2 separate regions of the Homo sapiens genome follow, and region 2 is linked to region 1. The links are contacts of gene promoters, found by promoter capture Hi-C in blood cells and fetal thymus (Javierre and others, 2016). All regions are on one chromosome and are shown on one strand. The core of a region is centred on a gene start or on the middle of the fragment in contact, and the rest is flanking DNA. Distances in the headings are between cores, read along the strand shown.

Region 1 (5,237 bases), core at 273-2,772:
TTCCCTTCTGTACCCACCTCTTGAACTTGGCCCGCTGCTTGGGGGATGGCAGATGAGGAAGTCCTAGGGCCAAGGAGCCGCTGTGGCTGGTAGGCACAGGGACCCTCCGTAGTGTGCCTGGGGCCTGGGCTGGCTGGGCCAGGCAGGGCTTGGGACTCCGTTTCTTCTTTTTGTCATCCATTGGGCGCTGGCTGGGCCTCAGGCCTAGGAGGGAAGCAACCCCACAAAGATAGCCAGGGGCAAAGTTAGCCCTTCACCCAGAAATCCCTGAGAGCTGCACCAAGGAAGGGCCCTGGGACCTTCCAGCTTGTCACCTCATCTATACGGTAGGGGCAGAGCCAGATGCCAGTGTCTGCTGCTGGGATCGTGGATGTACACTTGAAGGACCTTCTAAGGCCCAACCTAATTCCCCTTCTGCCTGAAAACCTAGGCCCCTCCTGAAAGGGTGGGACCAGTCACAACTATCTTGGCGCTACTGGGGCTTCCTGTCACGGTGGCTGGGGGGCGGGGCTGGCAGAGGAAATGTAGTGGGAGACAAGACGGAGGTGAGCTGCAGAAGCCCAGCCGAAGATTAGGGATGTCTTAACTAAACCCTATTCTATTTATCAGGGGCCTAAGCAGATGCTAACAAACCCTGTCAGCATGGGAGGGGGACAAGGTGCAGGTAGGGGCGCCTGGGAAAGCCCCAGCGTGTGGGTAATTGTAGGAGAAGCCGCAGCATACAGGGCAGGGTTCATTGTGGGTTTCCCCCACATAGACACCGGCATCCCTCCACTTCCACCCACCCCCAACCGAAAATATTAGGGACTCCCTATAGGTCCCGCGGGTGTGCTTTCAGCTGCTTCATTTTTCCCAGTCGGAAAGTCCCTGCTGGGCTTCAGCTGCAGCCAGGGTGGACTGGGTGGTTGGCCGCTGGCTGCCTGGGCCTCCGACAAAGGCTGCGCCTGTGGCTGGGCTGCTCCGAGGTCCCCGGTCCAGCAGCGCCCCCCAAGCCTCCGGTCGGCTGGGGTTCCCTCCTCTGGGGGTCTCATTCCAGGCTGCTGCTACCGAGCCTAACTTCGAATTCTGGGACTGGGGGGGTTGGGGGGGTGGGTGGCGCTTAAGCATTTACACTGACACATAGCTGGCTGCCACTGACGGGGTCTGCGGGTGTGGGGAGGGGAGATAGGAGCGCATCCTCTGCCTCTCCGTGCAGCAGCTTGACCCAATTAGGGACCTGATAGAAGAACTGGAGCCGGAGCCTGTGCTCCCCAGGAGCGGCTGGGGCGACCGGGGATCTATTTCCCAAGCCCGGGCTCCAAAGCCATGTGCCAAACTCATCGCTCAGCTCCGCAGCCGCGCTCGAAGACAGAGCGTCAGACCCGCGTCATTCCGCCCCCGCCCTCACTCCCTCAGGGGGCTACTGACCTGGAGGTTTGGGGTCTCGAGTGATGCTTCGGTGCAAGTTCCCTCCGCCCTCCGCCCTCTCCTCCCGGGAACACCACCGGGTGAAAGCTAAGCTGGAGGGAGTTCATTTGCATTTAAAGAGAAAGTGACCTTCTCCTTAGCGCGGTGGGGTGAGATGGGAGGAGCATCCCCGCGTATGCTAAGCAGTTCCTCTCACTCGACCTCACCTCCCCGCCTGAACCTAGGGGACCCTGTTGGTTGTGTGATGTCTATTTTAAAAAGATTTTCCCTTTCCCGGCAGTTTCAGAGAGAAGCTACAGTTCCTTACAAAATGGTGGTGGCTTTGTCAGAAAGGGGGTGGGGCGGGGGAGAGGAGAGACAGAGTGAGTGAGTGAGAGAGAGAGAATGTAAGCACAGAAGAAGCACAAGCAGCAACAGCAGCAGCATCAGGAAGACACTTCGAGCAAAGACAGCCATCAATGGAGTGAGTCCAGTGCCCTATTGAGCACTTTACATACATTTCATCCCCATAACAACCCTTAAGGAAGATACCAGTGTCATTCCCCATTCTACTGAAAGTAAGCAACAGTCTTTTGAGGGCAAAACCCCTCTCTCTACAATGCCAGACAGTTTTCTCTGGTAAGTGGTGGGGGCTGTATTTTGCCGCAGATGAAGTGACAGGAGTCCTCCCCACCCCCCAGGCCTAGGAGACAGGTGTGGGGAGCACCAGGTCATAAGGTAGACCACGCGATTCCCTGGCACCTGACTCCAGTCCTCAGGGAAACCTGAGCACCTGATGGAGGCTGACCCAGTGTGACTGCTGCTGCCTGCAGCCAGATCAATGGGGGCAGCTATTTAAAGCCCTGGCAGAGGCTCCTGGCGCAGGTCCCCAGAACAGCATCTGATACAACAGGAGAGAGGCTCATGTTTGGCCAGGCGGCTCAGCAGGCTCAAGTGAGCTGGCCCAGGGCAGTGCACACAGCCACCCAGCCCACCTTCCCCATCCCCGGGCAGGAGTGGCTTCCTGGGGTTGGGCCTCTTGGCTGATGTGGGGAGCCATGGGCACTGCTCCTGAGGGCACCTGCTCAGGGCTTCTTCCTGGGTACTTCCAACACTCAGAACACTCCACAAGGGTAAAGAGTAATTCCGAACTTTTTCAATAACCAGGGGCCCAGACTGGGGACAACAGAAATCCCTCTCCTTCCCCACCGGAGCTGCTAGAGTAGACAGTGGTAATGCTGCTGACAGAGGGAGCACCCCTGTGGTTCCCATCCTCAGCTGCTTCACTGGGGGGTCAGAAACCTCATTATTCTCAGAGCTGCTTTGCTTGGAATCTCCAAGAGTTGGGGCGGCACCCCCCCCACACCCTCCAGAGGATCTGCGACTAGAAATAACATGGCCAGCATGGAAAACATGTATCAGGACCCAGCTAGAAGGGTCAGAGGCTCTGCTGGGACTGTCACAGTCATTGTGGGCACATCTATTTGTGGAGGCCTGGAGGGAAGGGCAGGTGGGTTGTCTCTGCCATTTCCTGGGCATTCAGCACATATCATCCTTTGTGCCTGACCAACCCAGGACCCAGAGAGAACAGGGTGCTGGGTGAGGCCACCAGCAGCATGTCTCCCATATAGGAGTCCCATGCTTGAGGTGGGTAAATGGGGGGTGTAAAAACTGAACAGAGAATGTGCTCTCCTTAAGGAATGCATACAATTAGAGGCCCCTGTGAATTCCCTTGGGCAGGCCAGGGCTATAGGAGCCTACCCACAGCTCAGACCCAAATAGCAGTGATGAGTGTCCACCCCTCTTAACCTGGGCCTCAAATGGCCTATGCCTGGCTCCATGCCTTTTGCCTTACTGCTGGAGCCTATCAATTTCCTATTGAAACACCTTCAGTTGCCCCCCCTGCCCTCTGGATCTAGCCCACATTCCTTAACCTGGTACCCAGACTCTGGGCCCAGCCTCACCCCCTCTCCCAGTCCCATGGACCTGCTTCCCAGCTGTACCATTTAATCACTAAATGACGTTCATCTTCTACCTGCCCTGTGGTTCAGAAGGCCATTCCAGGTATCACCCCCTCACCTTGCTGAAGGGGGCAGGGGCCTCCTCTCTGCTCTCAGCACCATTGACCTGTCTATAGCTAAAAGTACCTTTTCCCTTCACTAGCCTGTGAGCCCCCAGGTCAGGGAAAACTTTTTTGTGTGTGTGTGATCCTCTCTGAGGCAAGGGTCTTGCCAACTTTGCCAAGGGCTCCACTCAGGCAGCTCAAGTGAATATGCCAGCATCCTGAGGCTGTGGCGACTGCTCAAAGACACTGTGGAATATGTAAGATACCAGGGAACCACCATGGGCGCTCTGCAGCAGACCTGAACAAGTCAGTGATGATGGAAGGGGCTGAATGGATCAGATCCAGAAACAAAGGAATACACAGGTCAGGAGAGAAACAAGTAAGGCAACAGACTCTTTATTTAATGTGGTTTAAAATACATCAAAATCAAGTCCCTGGCTGTTGTGAATACCCAAAGGAGACAAAAAAGCTGCCAGTGCAGCTTCAAACAAGTCTGAGTGGCCGGGCTGGGCCATAAGGAAAGCAGTTACAGGGACAGAAGGCAGCTCCCTTCCCCCAGGAAGGGCAAGAGGAGCAGGTGCCTGGCTGTCCCTGGGGTGACCACCTCTGTGCTGTGCAAGGCGGAAAGGCTGGGGCAGCAGCTGGAGAATCAGCTCAGCAGGCCTTGGCCCTCCCCCGTGGACACCAGGCAGCTCCACTGGCCTCCGGGTCAGCCCTCAGGGCCACCGTGATGGGGTGGAGGAGGGTTAAATAACCATCTTTACAGAAATAACAGTCTCCTACAGAAAGTGCCTGAGCTCAGCCCATGGTCCGATAACCTCATGGAAAACAAACAACAAATAAAAAAAAAAAGTGCTGCTGACACCTCTCAGAATCTGGTGGACATGAAGCTCTCAGCTGGACAAGGCCCTGAAAACAATTTACTATTAGCAGAGCCATGCGCTCTTGAGCTTCACCTGCTGTGGTCCCCTGGAGGAAAAGCTAGCAATCTAAGAAACCAACACAGATCTTGGTCCTAAAACTGAGGTCACAAGTGTGGGACCCACCCAGGTGAGGAAGACACTGGCCTTCACTCATGGATAGGCACCTCCCCTGCATCTGGCCCAGGACCTGGGCTACTTTGGAAAGCAGAAGCAGAGCAGCTGTAGTGATTGGTTGATTTGGTCAATGAAGAGAAGAAAAAGGTAGGGAACCTCATCTGCAGACTGGCCTGAAGGTCTAGACATGGATGGAGCTGTGAGCAAAGGCTGCACCTTGCCTGGGGCCCACATTCCTGACCTGGGAAACCCAGCTGGGGCCACCTGCTCACTGTGGCCTCCTACACCACCACACTGGGATCCAGCAGCTCCAGTCCCTCCACAGGCATTAAGAGGTAGCTGAAGTGTGAGTCAGGCAATTATGTGGGCCACTGTAGGCCTTTCCCCTCTCTTCAAGGGGGAAGGTGCATACCTCTGCCTCTTCCCTGCACCTCTCTCGCCTAGCAAACACTCTGTGAGGTTGGCAGCTCTTGTACCAGCTTAGCCTGGCACAGGGGCTGGGGTAGGGAAAAGGCCCTACTGGAGCAGGAAGAGGCAAGGACTACTCCAGACAGAGGGATTCAAAGGGGAAGAAAAAGGTCATGGGAAACACTTCACAGGACAGCAGTATCTCAGCCAGAGATGGCAGAGATCTCAACACTCACACAGCTGCTTGAGGGCACCTAGATGTGAAGGATACACCAGAGAATAGCAGGCAACTCTGATGCAGATCAGTGGTACCTGCCCTGGGGCAGGAGAAGGAGAAATGG
Region 2 (5,643 bases), core at 642-3,141, 190 kb before region 1:
AAAATTAGTCGGGCATGGTGGTGCACAACTGTAATCCCAGATACTCGGGAGGCTGAGGCAGGAGAATCGCTTGAACCCGGGAGGCAGAGGTTGCAGCGAGCTGAGATTGCACCACTACACTCCAGCCCGGGCAACAGAGCAAGACTCTGACTCAAAATAAATAAATAAATAAAATAGATGTTTCCGTCTTCCACAGGGAGGACCAAAAATAAATAAATAAATAAAATAGATGTGTCCGTCTTCCACAGGGAGGACGTGGGATGGTGGCGGAGCTGGCTGCAGCAGAGCTACAAATAAATATAAAATAAATAAAATTAAATAAAATTAAATAAATAAAAGAAAGTTATTTCAAAGGATTGTCTGAGAGGCAAAAACCTAACTGCAGTGAGTTCAAGAGAGAATGGGAGGAGAGGGGAGTTGCAGACTGTGAGTAGGCAACGCTTTTGCTGTAAAGGGGAGTAGGGAAACGGTGAGGGATATAGAGAGGGCTGGTTTTTGTTTGCCTTTGAGATGGGAGAAACAGCAGTACGGATGATGACAAGGATAAATGCAGTCATCAGAGGGAAAAGAGATGAAGGGGGGATTACTAGATCTATGTCCTTAAGCAAACAAGAGGCGATGGGATCTACCGCACACGTGGAGGGGCTGACCTTAATTAAAGTCCAAAGTATGTGGGCTGTGGAATCTCCCTTCCAATCGCAGTAGAACTCAATCCAGGCGGTCTCCGGATTTCTCCAGACCACCTCCACCTGGCGTTGTTCTGAGCTGGGCCACCGAAAGTTGAGATTACTGAATGTGTGTGTCTCCCATTAACCCGTAAGCCCTCCAAAGGCTGCATCTAAGTCGCCTCTGAATTATTCACATTCCTCCAAACTCTGGGCCACAGCCCCGCAATATGGGCTTATTGAATTAGCCCAAAGAGACACAAAGCAGCCTCTACGCAGCTGGTTTCACAAAGGGGGGCGGTCCTAACCCTGCGCTCTGGGATCCTGACGTTCGAGCTATCTCTCCTCCTCCCCTCTGCTCCCAGCTCTCCGCAGTCCAGCTTGTCGGCTGATCATCGTCCATAGAGGCCACCGTACCCGACGTTTGCGGACAGTGACAAAGAGTCAAGCTTGGTGGAGCCTGAGGACAGGACTGAATGACGATTGAACTGAGAGTTCAGGGGCGGAGTTTGAGGGCGAACTCGGGACAGAGACTGGATAGAGTTCAGGGAGGCGGGACCTAATGATGGCGCAGGGAGGGGATTGGGCTGAGGGCGGTGCCGGCGCGAGGATTGGGCCGAGCGCCTCGGGGGCGGTCCTTGAGGGGGCGGTGCCGTGTCGGAAGTCAAAGGTCAGTAAATAGTGGTGATGTCATGCAGGCAAGATGGCGGAAGGGTGAGCTTGTCGTTTTGCTCCTAGGCGTTGGGGCCTGAATTCTCCCAGGGTTGGGGTGCTGGGCGAGAGTCCCGGTGGGGAACGTGAGATCAGCGGGGGCGTGGACTGATCTGAAAGGGCAGAGTGGAGTCGCATTGTGAGGGGGTGGGCAAGCGGTCTGCGAAGCCTCGGCCCGCAGGGTACATCTGAGCGGGGAACAAACCGGATCCTTGGGCGGGCAGGAATCGCACCGCGGTGCTGCCAGATGTGTCTGTCTTCCACAGGGAGGACGTGGGATGGTGGCGGAGCTGGCTGCAGCAGAGCTACCAAGCAGTCAAAGAGAAGGTAAGCCGGGCCCGTGCCCTTCTTCCCTCAGCAGGGCCCTGCGCCGCCTCAATGCAACCTGGTCCAACCAGCCCCGCCCAACTTTTGCGGGCGCTAAGTCTCAAGGATGAGGCTGACCTGGGCCTTTCTTTTAGCCTCTACCGGTCCACGGGAAGACAGACCTCGACGCAAACCAGTGTGATACTAGCCACAGTGAAATAAAGATGGTTTTAAAGGCTGGAGTTAACGAACGTTTTGTAGGAATCCATAGGAAGGAGCAATTTATTCCAGCTCAGGAAATTCAGTTTCTTCGTGAAAGAGAGAGCATTTGATACAGGTCTTGAAGGAAAAGATTCTAGCAGTAAAAAAACTTACTCGTATAGTCATTCAAATATTAGAGTATATGCGACAACCAGCACTCTGATAGGTCTTGAGGATACAGACTTCAGCCAAACAGATGTAATCCTGGGCCTTACAAAGCTCACAGTCTAGTGGAGAGACAGCCATTAACCGAGTAGCCAAACAAATAGTTGTTTAGTTACCGTTGTGGTAAGTTCTGTGAAAGGAAAGTACAGGGGCACCTTGTCTGTTCTGGTTAGTCAGTAACTCACCAGGGAAGGCCCCTGTGGAGAAGGAACCTCATCAAGGGCAACCCTGCCTAGACAGGATGAAAAGCAAGAACCCAAGCCAGAGATGAGCATGAGCCATACACACTGGTGCCTGATGAGTTCTAAGTAGGGGCTATGCAACGGGCAGTAGAGAGAGAGAGATTAATCACCAGAGAGTGGAAGGCCTTCTTGCTGAACAATCTCTGTGGGATGAGTGATATTTGGCTGTGCCAGTGGGTAATTTGCCAATGTGTATTCCTGTTTCATTTCATGCTTATTTGTCAAAATCAGCCCAACTGAATTGTGGGAAAAGTTGATTACTATTTACCTCAAGCAATTGGGATGAGTCCTGCTTCAGGGCCAACTCCAGGAAGCTTCTGACCTCACCTAAATAAGTCCTCTACTCTGGGAGTATTTTTGTTTTGTTTTGAGACAGAGTCTCACTCTGTCACCTAGGCTGGAGTGCACAGGTGCGGTCTCAGCTCGCTGCAACCTCTGCCTCCCAGATTGAAGTGATTCTTGTGCCTCAGCCTCCCGAGTAGCTGGGATTACAGGCATGTGCCACTACTCCTGGCTAATTTTTGTATTTTTAGTAGAGACAGGGTTTCACCATGTTGGCCAGACTGGTCTCGAACTCCTCACCTCAGGTGAGCCACCTGCCTCAGCTTCCCAAAGTGCTGGGATTATAGGCGTGAGCCACCACACCCAGACATCTGGGAGCGTTTTTATTCCTCCCTTATCCTGGGTACTCCTGGACAGCCTCTCAGCAATAGCCCAGCAAATCTGAGAATGCCCTGAGCTGTTTATGTTGTTGATGAGGACTGAGAGGCTTGCACCCTAACATTTGATAGAAGAGACCCGATAGTAGCATATTTCCTGTTGGGTAATTTCCTGGCAGGAAAGTCTGACATTCATTCAGCAGATGTTGCATGAGGGCCTCCTGTGTTTGTCTCAAGGTTGGTCTTATCATAACTTATGAAAAATAGATAGTTGGCCAACCTTCCGTCTTCATTCTTGGAATTCCCAGTTAAAAGCTGGGGTGGGGGTGGAGGTGGGAGTTGTTTATGCCTTTTTGGAAAGAAAAGACGTAATTTCCCTTTTTTTACTTTCTTACTCTTATATGTACTTGGGCAAGTGTTTTTTGTTTTTTGTTTGTTTGTTTTTGAGACCAAGTCTGGCTCTGTTACCAGGCTGGAGTGCAGTGGCTCAGTCTCAGCTCTGCAACTTCCGCCTCCTGAGTTCAAGTGATTCTCCTGCCTCGGCCTCCTGAGTAGCTGGGATTACAGGCATGTGCCACCACGCCCAGCTAATTTTTCTATTTTCAATAGAGACAGGGTTTCACCATGTTGGCCAGGCTGGTCTCAAACTCCTGACCTCAGGTGATCCGCCTGCCTCGGCCTCCCAAAGTGCTAGGATTACAGGTGTGAGCCACCACGCCTGGCCTCTTGGGCAAGTTTTTAACCTCTCTAGGCCTCAGTTCCTCATCTATAAAATGGGAATACTAACAATACCTACTTGATGAGATTGTGGTGATGGTTAAATGTTAATATATGTAAAACACTAAGAACAGTACCTAGCATACAGTAAGTGCTATATAAGCATTAGCTGTTATTAAGTGCTGAGGCTGATGGGAAAACCTCTTAGATACCACCCCCAGTTCGTTTTTCCTTCCATTTTTTTTCTTGGTCTTTTGGTGCTTTCCTATCTGTATGTCCCATTCTGGCTCCATCTGGACCACTCACTTCTCAGCACTCCTTAGAACACATTGCCCTGAAGACCACAGCTATGAGATGGTGCTATCATCTGCTTTCCTCTGCTCCTTACCTCCTCCTGTCCTGTCTTCCTGTGTGTTGTCAAGGGCAATATGACTGACACAAATACGTGTGCATACACGTTGATAGAGAAAGGCATATCATTGCTCTACATACTTACCAGAAAGAAGAAATTAAAAAGAGAAAGGCACCAAATGCTTTTTGGTTCCATCACAGATTCCCCAACCTCATCTGGGCCCACATACTCTTCAGTCTCCAATTTGCTTCTCCTCCCCTTAACTTCAGAAACTTTCCCAAAACCTAACTCTTCCCTGGGGTCCCCTATTCAGCCGCTTTATCCCTTTCACTTCCAGGAGACAACCTCATCTACTTTTTGAAACTTCAGGTGAACAAACAGGATCTTTAACTCTCTCCCCACCCTCAAAGCCACCACCTATAAACTTATCTTTACTCAGTCAGCTTTACCTACTGCTTGCCAAATCCAGTGGGTGGTTTTCAGCCCTTATCTTCCTGGACCATTCTGCTGCATTTGACGCTAGTGATCACTCCCTCTCTTGAAACGCTACTCTCTTGGCATTTGTGACATGATTCTTAAGTCTCCACATACTTCTCCAGACGTTGCTTTTGTAACTGTCTCATGAGTTCCTCTTCCTCTGCTTGCCCCCTACAGGTAGTGTCTGAGGACACTTGTCCTCAGCCCATTGCTCTGTCCACTTTCCAAACTCTTCCTGGGTCACCTTCTCCACTTTCCTGTTAGGGCGACTCTTAGACCTTTTGCCTGAACTTTAGTGTTGTGTTTTGCTTTGTTTTGAGATGGGCTCTCACTTTGTCACCCAAGCTGAAGTGCAGTGATGCAAACATGGTTCTCTGCAACCTCCACTTCCTGGATTCAAGCAATCCTCCCACCTCAGGCCCCCAAGTAGCTGGGACTATAGGCGTGTACCATCACGCCCAACTAATTTTTGTATTTTTTGTAGAGATGAGATCTCGCCATGTTGCCCAGGCTGGTCTCAAACCCCTAGGCTCAAGCAGTCTGCCCACCTTGGTCTCCCAAAGTGCTGGGACTACAGGCATGAGCCACCATGCCCGGCCAGCTTTAGTGTTTGAGGATAGCTATTGCTGGACAGCTATCCTAGACAGCCCACAGTCATCTCAAGTTCTGCGTGCCCAAAGTCATTGTTACCACCTTGTCTCTAGGACTGCTCCTCCTCCAGGATTTTCTCACTTAGCTGGCAGTACTGCATCTACGCAGTCACCTATTTTAGCAGCCTGTGGTGCTTCCATGATTCTTTTCTAGCCCTCAGTCAACATACCTGTTCAGTCACCAAATCCACCTTCTTCCATCTCCTGTATCTTGAACCAGTCTCATCCTCTCCATCTTTACTAGCATTGTCCTTACTCACATTTTTCTATTTTCTTTCCTGGATTATTGCAGCAGCCTCCTGACTGGTCTTCCTTCTTCCTCTTCTAATCTTCTCGCCTCTGGACCTTTCCTCCATTCCAGTCACTGGAGTAATTTAGTGAAAAGGCAAATCTCATGTCCCACCCACTTCAAACCTTTGGTGGCTCCCCATCATCCAT

Evidence for each region. Contacts are between HindIII fragments. The CHiCAGO score rates a contact against its expected background, and 5 or more counts as called.
Region 2: a contact is called between a fragment that was not itself captured here and the fragment with the promoter of CCDC28B in region 1, in 15 of 17 cell types (non-activated CD4 T cells, naive CD4 T cells, total CD8 T cells and 12 more). The highest score is 20.1, in non-activated CD4 T cells.

The regions. Positions count from the first base shown.
Region 1 is chr1:32,196,880-32,202,116 of GRCh38, reverse strand. It overlaps CCDC28B (coiled-coil domain containing 28B), which reads right to left and starts at 1,522. Exons shown (of 6, transcript NM_024296.5): 1 at 1,408-1,522; 2 at 18-204. The coding sequence starts at 181. It overlaps TXLNA (taxilin alpha), which reads right to left. Exons shown (of 11, transcript NM_175852.4): 11 at 3,832-5,237. RefSeq lists enhancers at 156-676, 545-764, 677-1,196, 1,455-1,534, 1,747-2,304 and 2 more. The HindIII fragment of the contact is 8,664 bases long and covers 1-5,237 here.
Region 2 is chr1:32,390,140-32,395,782 of GRCh38, reverse strand. BSDC1 (BSD domain containing 1) reads left to right here and starts at 1,342. Exons shown (of 11, transcript NM_018045.8): 1 at 1,342-1,379; 2 at 1,643-1,703. The coding sequence starts at 1,369. RefSeq lists enhancers at 1-209, 957-1,036, 908-1,603, 1,327-1,616, 1,604-2,301. The HindIII fragment of the contact is 1,550 bases long and covers 1,117-2,666 here.